Linked DNA regions of Homo sapiens: region 2 is linked to region 1. Evidence: promoter capture Hi-C in human tissues and cell types (Jung and others, 2019). All regions are on one chromosome and are shown on one strand. Each heading gives the region's core, a stretch centred on a gene start or on the middle of the fragment in contact. The rest is flanking DNA. Distances are from core to core; before and after follow the strand shown. Region 1 holds the start of HS3ST6 (heparan sulfate-glucosamine 3-sulfotransferase 6). Region 2 overlaps MEIOB (meiosis specific with OB-fold).

The links. The method cuts DNA at HindIII sites, captures the fragments that hold promoters and counts their contacts. A contact is called where the count stands out against the background at its distance.
Region 2: a contact is called between a fragment that was not itself captured here and the fragment with the promoter of HS3ST6 in region 1, in 5 of the 25 tissues and cell types used here (IMR-90 fibroblasts, dorsolateral prefrontal cortex, lymphoblastoid cells and 2 more).

What each region holds. Positions count from the first base shown.
Region 1 is chr16:1,916,209-1,920,225 of GRCh38, forward strand. HS3ST6 (heparan sulfate-glucosamine 3-sulfotransferase 6) reads right to left here and starts at 2,207. Exons shown (of 2, transcript NM_001009606.4): 1 at 1,703-2,207. The coding sequence starts at 2,115. RefSeq lists enhancers at 2,300-2,861, 2,862-3,425, 3,426-3,987, 3,988-4,017. The HindIII fragment of the contact is 13,256 bases long and covers 1-4,017 here.
Region 2 is chr16:1,831,955-1,835,971 of GRCh38, forward strand. It overlaps MEIOB (meiosis specific with OB-fold), which reads right to left. Exons shown (of 14, transcript NM_001163560.3): 14 at 2,032-2,412. The coding sequence ends at 2,302. It also overlaps a transcript of FAHD1 not described here. Among named protein-coding and RNA genes, the nearest start is that of FAHD1, 6.8 kb to the left of the region's middle. RefSeq lists a silencer at 894-1,188. The HindIII fragment of the contact is 8,140 bases long and covers 1-4,017 here.

The DNA.
Region 1 (4,017 bases), core at 957-3,456:
GCCCAGCTCTACTGGCTCTGCACCGCCCAGTGAGGGGTCAGCACAGTTGGTCCAAGGGACAATACCAGATTAATGAGGCAGAAGCCACGGGACTGACCCCTTGGAATTCTCCACACCCACCCCTCCCCCTTCTAAAAAATGAGGACGTCAAGAATCTACCAGAGCAGTCACTCTCCTGTACCCCCCTCCAACCCTGGGCACGTCAGTGTCCCCGGAACCCCACCCCCAGGCTAAGGAGCTGACTCCCAAGTTGGGCCTGGCCTTGGCTGCCTCTCATCCTCCCCAAACTGATCCCCCAGCGCTGGACACATGCCCAGGGCGGGCCTGGACTGGCCTCAGGAGCCTGGGCTCTTCCAGAACCCTTTAGGGCTAAACCCAACCCTAGCTTCCCCTGTGGCTCCTCACGGCCCAGCTCAGATCCCACCCCCAGTCTCTTGCTGTCAAAGCTCATGGGGCTCAGGGGTGGCTCTGAAGTGTTTACTCCAGTTAACTGTGCATCCTTAACCCAAAGCCCTTTCTCCCCTTCCCCCTCCCGCCTCTCCCCTCCTCCCCCGTCTCGCCACTCCCCTCCTCCCCAGCTTCTAGCTTGGTAGCCCCTCCTACCCTCCTCCCTGCAGCAGGGATTAGGGATGCATTCTGACCCCTGCCTGCCGTCAGGGGAGTGAGGTCTCTCCCTGGAGCCTGAGCTGAGGATGCCCAATTCAGCCAGGTGAGCCCCGGGATGGACTCCATGTCCCCTAGCCACCACCTGACTTCCCCAGCACCCCACACTGGCACCAGCCCTTCAGATCTCAGAAGCGAGCCACCCTATTCTCACGGAGCCCCTTCCTGCCTGCCCTCCAAACCCAAGAGTAGTTTTAGTACAAAAGGCAAAGTTAACAAATAGGGGTAGGCGTCAGGGAAGGAAGAGGATCAGAGGATCGGGAACGGAGAAACTGGAGCACCTGGAGAAGCGTCTGGGTCCTGCCACCCCCACTGACTCCCCAACTGGCCTTGGGCAGGGTCCTCTCTGCAGGCGCTGGGTCCAAGCTTGGGGATGAGCAGCCACCAGCGCGGGCTGCTTCAGCTGAGGCTGCCGCACCCCCACGTCCATCCTGGGTAGAGGCAGGACAGCCACAGAGCCCCATGCACGGGGCTGGACTCACCCTGGGCACTCACCTAAAGGCAGTCTCCTCCTTTCCAAAGCCCAGACTTTCTCCGGACTCCCAGGACCACCAACAAGGGTTCCTGTGCGCAGACTCGGGGGTCTTGGGGAGGAAGGACGCTTTCTAGGTGGCTGCCTGGAACCTGGAGGCCCCTTTCTACAGTACCTGGCCAGCGGTCGGTCACACCTGAGTGCCCAGAGTGAGCGGGCGGCAGAGGCATTTCTGACGCTGCCAGGTAATCCCACGGGCTGGAAACGACCTCTGGGCTGGGAAGCCACCGCCTCCCCCAGTCCTGCTGGGTCCCTCAGCAGAGAGAACGGAACCGGGGCTTTCCCCACAGTTTTCAAAGTTTCAGGGAATCCTAGCCAAGTATCATTCCTTCTTCCGGAGCCGGGACCCCAGGTCAAGCCTGGGGCCCCCACAGGGCGGTCCCAACCCCACTGCCCGGAGCGCACCCCTGCTCCCTGGGAGGCAGGATATCGTGCCGCTGCTCCCTGGGGCGCACGATACCCTCCCCAGGAAGGCGCCGGTCAGGGCGGACGGGCCAGGGTGCTCACCGGTACCAGGCGAGGCCGCGCTCGTAGCACCTGTCGAAGAAGTGGGGCTCAGAGCCCAGCGCGCGGACGTCGGGGTGCAGCCGCAGAAACTCCAGCAGGGCGCGCGTGCCGCCCTTCTTCACGCCAACGATGAGCGCTTGCGGGAAGCGCCGGCGGCCGGGACCGCTGGCCAAAGGCAGGCCGGGTGCTCCCGGGCGGTGGACGGAGCTGGACGGCTCGGAGGGCGCGGGGGCCGGCGCGGGGGCGCGGGCGGCCGGCGGGCAGCGGCCGGGGAGGGCGCAGAGGCAGTAGGCGCCGAGCACCAGGGCCACGAGCAGCATCGGCGCGCGGGACGCCCGCAGAGCGGCCCCTTGCCCGGCCCCTGCGCCCTGGCCGCCCCCGGCCCCGCCGCCCAGGCCGCCGCTACCTGCCATGGGGTCGCGCCGCTCCAGGCCCGGGAGCGGGGGCAGCAGGCGGGCGCGCATCTCGGCCCGCGCGCCGCTCAGTCCGTGGGTGCCCGGCTTGTGCTCTGCGCCCGGCGGTCCCGCAGCCTGGGAGCGGGCGCGGGGCGGGACCGGGGGCGGGGTCTGGACGCCCTCCCCCCTCCCCCTCCCCCGCCCACTCCGCCTCCGAGGCCACTGCCTGGGCTGGACCCGCCGGCAGCCGCCACCACCCGGGCGCGACTCGAGCTGCCGGGACCACCAGGACGCTCCTGCTCCGAGATCCCAGGCCCTGGCTCGCTTGACTCCGGCATCTTCACCTCTGCGCGGGGAGGATGCGGCGGCGGTGGCCGTTCGGGACGCAGGGCAGGGACAGGGCGGCGCGCGGGCCTCGGGACCCTCTGTTTGAAGACCGATCCCCTTCCCCCCCCACCCCACTCCGGGACGTGCGCGGCAGGTGCATAGGCCAAGCCTTGGCCTGCAGGAGCGGGAGCCTCATCGCCAGGCCAAGGGGACCCAGGAAAAGCGTCGATCCGGGCACTCGGCCTGCCAAGGGAGAAAGAGGCCGGGACAGCACCCTAGTGTGCAGAGAGGGATCCCAGAACGTGTGGGGGGAGTCTGCGGCCGGGAATGGCGTGCGTCCTGCACTCCCAGCTGACAGTCACACATCGGGTCACAGCCTGGCCGCTGAGAGGTCAAGTCACCTCTGGTTACTGTTTTAGAATGGAGGGGACAGGCTCAGAGAAAATAGGTTTCCCTCCCAGGGGCCCAGTGGTGAACTGAATTCAGGCCTGAGACATACTCTGTCTACTAAGTCACCCCATCTGCCCAGCCTTGGTCCACCTGGCACTGCCCAGAGACATCAGTGATGCATTTCGGAAGCTGGCAAAGTGGACCCCACTGGAGTACAAAGGACTCAGGGACCCCTGTGCTGGGGAAGAGAAGGAGCCCAGGACCTCCCCCAGGGGCTGCCTCTGAGGGGCGTGAGATTCAGGGGCCTCTCGGGTGGGACCTGCGGGGGCCGCTAGACACTGCGGGAACTTCACATCCCCAACGCCCAGCAGCAGCCTGCAGGGAAGGCAGGGGAGGCGAGCCGGGCTCAGAGAGGGCGAGCAACTTGCCCCATCCGAAGGCAAAGGTGGTATGAGACCCGGGTCCTCTCTCCACCTCTGCCCCAGCCTTCCTGGCCACAGGGCTGGCGCCAGGCAGGCACGGCACAGGCTCCCGGCAGAGGCCCAGCCTCTTCCCAGCCAAGGGCTTGCGGCCCCTGTCCTGGGCTCTGCTGCGTTAATGAGCCGTTCCAGCCCTGATGGCATCTGGACAAGTCCCAGCAGCCGGGCTGCCTCAAGGGGCCGAAGGCCTCCACGACCCACAGACATTCCGGAGCTCCTACCCAGCAGCAGCCCTGGCCAGAGGGGGCCACACGGGGCTGACGGGGTGAAGACCACTGACCAGTCCCCCAGCCCCGGCTCCAGACATGCGGGCTGCACCTGCTCATCTGGGCAAGCCTCTGCAGGAGCCCCGTGGGCAGGCAGCGGGCACAATGCGAGGAGAGCATGCTGGCTTATGCTGGGTCACAGGAAATTCTTCTTCTGGTCTAGCTTGAAACGGTATTGTTCCCAACGGGCTGGCTCGGGGTGGGGGCTGGGGTCCCACCCTGCAGCATCCACCCCACAGTCTCAGCAGTCCCCACGGTCTCAGGAGTCCTCACGGTCTCAGGAGTCCCCACGGTCTCAGCATCCCCATGGTCTCAGCTGTCCCCAGGGTCTCAGGAGTCCCCACGGTCTCAGCCGTCCCCATGGTCTCAGCCGTCCCCAGGGTCTCAGGAGTCCCCACGGTCTCAGCCGTCCCCACGGTCTCAGCAGTCCCCACGGTCTCAGGAGCCCCCACGGTCTC
Region 2 (4,017 bases), core at 844-3,343, 84 kb before region 1:
TGCCAAAAAGTTTGGGCCGCTGCTCTACATCATTGGCACTTGTTTGTTTCCTTAGGGAAGTCTTAGAAGTGAAATCAATGAAATGGTTTGCACTTTGAAATTTTGACACTTTTTGCCAAATTGCAGAGGAAAAAAAACTACCATGTTGCACTTGACAAGACTGTTTAAGAATACCTTTACACCGACACCCCAGCTAAGGCTGGGCATCATGGCTATGGTCATTCTTTTTTTTTTTTTTTGAGACAAAGTCTTGCTCTGTTGCCCACGCTGCAGTGGCATGATCTCGGCTCACTGCAAGCTCCGCCTCCCGGGTTCACGCCATTCTCCTGCCTCAGCCTCCCGAGTAGCTGGGACTACAGGCGCCCTCCACCACACCCGGCTAATTTTTTTGTATTTTTAGTAGAGACAGGGCTTCACCGTGTTAGCCAGGATGGTCTACATCTCCGGACCTCGTGATCCACCCACCTCAGCCTCCCAAAGTGCTGGGATTACAGGCGTGAGCCACCGCGCCTGGCCTATTTTCCTCTTTTTCTTAAAAATATAAGTGTCAGCTGGGCACGGTGGCTCACGCCTGTAATCCCAGCACTTTGGGAGGCCGAGGTGGGTGGATCACTTGAGCCCAGGAATTCAAGACCAGCCTGGGCAAAATGCCAAGATCACTGTCTCTACAAAATGTTTTAAAATTAACCGAGTAAGGTGGCTTCTCCTGAGCTCCTGGACACGGGGCTCAGTGGAGGGGGCACCATACCCACTCTTGCTGAACCAACAGTGGGAGCCAAGCCAGCACCAACCACGACACCCTCACTTCTCTCCTCTCCTTCCTTCCCTGTCCACCCTCCCCATTCACCTGGCTTCACAAACCCCCCAGTTCTCCCCAAGGGAGGATGGAAGGCCTGTTCTGCACAACTAGGTCAAGTCGTTCATTACCTTATCACCACAATTTGGACACTTAGGGGTGAACCTGCATCCCTCCTCTGTGGCTGCACATGGTAAAAGCCAGATAAAACATGACTGACGATGGTTTATCTCCCAACACCAGCCTTAGGAAACAGTTTCATATACTCACTTTTTCCTTTTTTTTCAATCCTGTGGTGGAGGGCATGTAGCCTTCTAAAGTACCAGGTCAAACCTCCCAGGCCGTGGGTCAACACTGACCTTAGCGGTGGGTCTTCACAGCTGGAGTCTGCGCCCTGAAGCAAGTGACTCTCAATGGTGTGCAGTTGAGCCGTTTACTTTGTGGCTGCTGCAAAGCAAACAGATAAAGTGGCAGCTGTCGTCCTCATGTCCTGAGTAGGTCCCCCTCAGAGTTCTGAGACCCAGGCATGCTCATGAACCTTTTGAAGTTGGTCTCCTCCCAGTTGATTCAGACTCAGTCATGTCAGCCCTGAGCCAGCAAGCCTCCACAAGCACTGGGCACTCCAGTGTGTCACCAGAGAAGACCAGGGACTAGAAGAGCCCCAGGTGCTCAAAGCAGTCGCACAGGATTGCCCACGACTTTGGCTATTCCCACCCAGCACCAAGAGCCCCTTGCCCTCATCCTGTCAGATCTGTCAGATGACGAGTCACCACCCAGCTCTCAGAAAGTAGTCTTTAGAGGTACTTTTTTTTTTTTTTTTTTTTTTTTTAAGACAGAGTCTCGCTCTGTCGCCCAGGCTGGAGTGCAGTGGCTGGATCTCAGCTCACTACAACCTCCTCATCCCAGGTTCAAGAGATTCTCCTGCCTCAGCCTCCCGAGTAGCTGGGACAACAGGCACGTGCCACCACACCCAGCTAATTTTTTGTATTTTTAGTAGAGATGGGGTTTCACTGTGTTAGCCAGGATGGTCTCGATCTCCTGACTGCCTTGGCATCCCAAAGTGCTGGGATTACAGGCATGAGCCACCGTGCCCAGCCCTTGAGGTCCTACTCTTTTTCCAGGGAACCAAGACAAATAATAAACTGGCTTAAGAAAATAAATCATTCACTCAGGATTAAGAAACTCACTCAAAGCCGTTCAACTACATGGAAAAGAAAATAAATCATTCAAATCTGTAGAAGATTAAATCTGTTTATTAATTCATGTAAACATTTTCCAACTTGGGAGGAGACAAGGCAAAGACAGTAGGAGGCCTTCTAAGAAGGGAGGTCAGATGAGAGAGGCCTTCAGACTCACCCAGACCACCTCCACCATAACAATTTCTAGAAACATGTTCACCACATGTAAACAAAATGCAATTTTCCCCATAATTTTCAAATTAATATTCCATTTTAAAGGGAGTTAAAACTCTTATACTTTTCCAGAGTTCAAAATGATAGACCGTTTTAAACATGTTTTTGTCCAGACAAGTTTCTGCTTGCCTCAGTAGGATCTGCAAGCTTGCACGAGAGTACACTAATTTTCAATCCACTCCTTGCTCTGTGTGATAGAACGAACTGCGAGGAGAAACAGAAAAAGAGACAAAAGGTTAATTTTTAAAATCCCCTTGTATATCAAGTTGAAAAATCAATGATCACGAATAGAGAACTGCAATGAAAGTTTTGTTTACAGATACTAATATAAACTTCCATTAGAGCTGTAAGATGATGGGAAGAGTTCCAGTCTCGGAGTACAGTTAATTTACAGGCCCAGCTTCTGACTGATTTTGTAAAAATTTTGTCACTTTTCATGCTATTTCTCTCAGGTAGGAAAGTTGGGATTAAAAGTCTAATGTGGCCGGGTGCTGGTGCAGTGGCTCACGCCTGTAATCCCAGCACTTTGGGAGGCCAAGGCGGGTGGATCACCTGAGGTCAGGAGTTCGAGACCAGCCTGGCTAACATGGTGAAACTCCCATTTCTACTAAAAATACAAAAAATTAGCCGGGCATGGTGGCACACACCTGTTATCCCAGCTACTCAGAAGGCTGAGGCAGGAGAATCCCTTGAACCCGGGAGGCAGAGGTTGCAGTGAGCAGAGATTGTGCCATTGCACTCCAGCTTGGGCAACTAGAGCGAAACTCTGTCCCCCCCACCCCCCCCCACTAAAAAAAATGTCTAATGCAGGGCTGGGTGAGGTGGCTCATGCCTGTAATCCCAGCACTTTGGGAGGCCAAGGCAGGTAGATCACTTGAGGCCTGAAGTTCAAGACCAGCCTGGCCAATAAAGTGAAACCCTGTCTCTACTAAAAATATAAAAATTAGCCAGGTGTGGTGGTGCACACCTGTGGTCCCAGCTACTCGGTGGCTGAGGCGGGAGGATCACTTGAGCCTGGGAAGGTTGAGGCTGCAGTAAGCTGTGATCGCACCACGTGCTCCAGCCTGTGTGACAGAGCGAGCAGAGTGAGACTGTGTCTCAAAAAAAAAAAAAAGTATAACATATGAAAAAGGGCTTAATGTGTGTTCAAACTACCAACTGTGATAGACTTTAAGCTGTAGCAGGGACTCAATCTGTGAGACTACAGGAATATGATGACATAATTTAATAATAGTCTTATTTTAATAGTCTTATTTTTTATAATTTATACAGCACTTTAACCAACATTTTATTTAATATAGAGTGGAAGGACATATCAACCACTTTAATTTCAAGACTGAGAGAAAAAAAAGTACCAACATCAGGGAAAACTGGGAAAGACTTTAAGTGGGCAATAACAATAAGTGGGTACCCTTTCAATGGAATGTTGTGGTAGTCTGACATTGGCTAGAACACGTTCAGAGCTGTCTGATTCTACAGGGGCTACACCTCCCATTGCACGGACTGAGCTGTTTTAGAACTAGGTTGTAGAAAGCTGACAGTGATTCGAATGACCCTGCTCATGGAATCCCCATGAAGTCTGTCTGAGTGAAGATGCACTGCTTCTGCCCTATAGAGGAGCCCAGAGGTTCATCTACAAGCAAACCCATTCAGCATTTTGCATTGCCTGCCTATGTATCTATTCTTCCAATTCCTTTTTCTTTTTTTTTTTTTTTGAGACACAGTCTCACTCTGTCACCCAGGCTGGAGTGCAGTGGTGAGATCTCGGCTCACTGCAACCTCTGCCTCCCAGGTTCAAGCAATTCTACT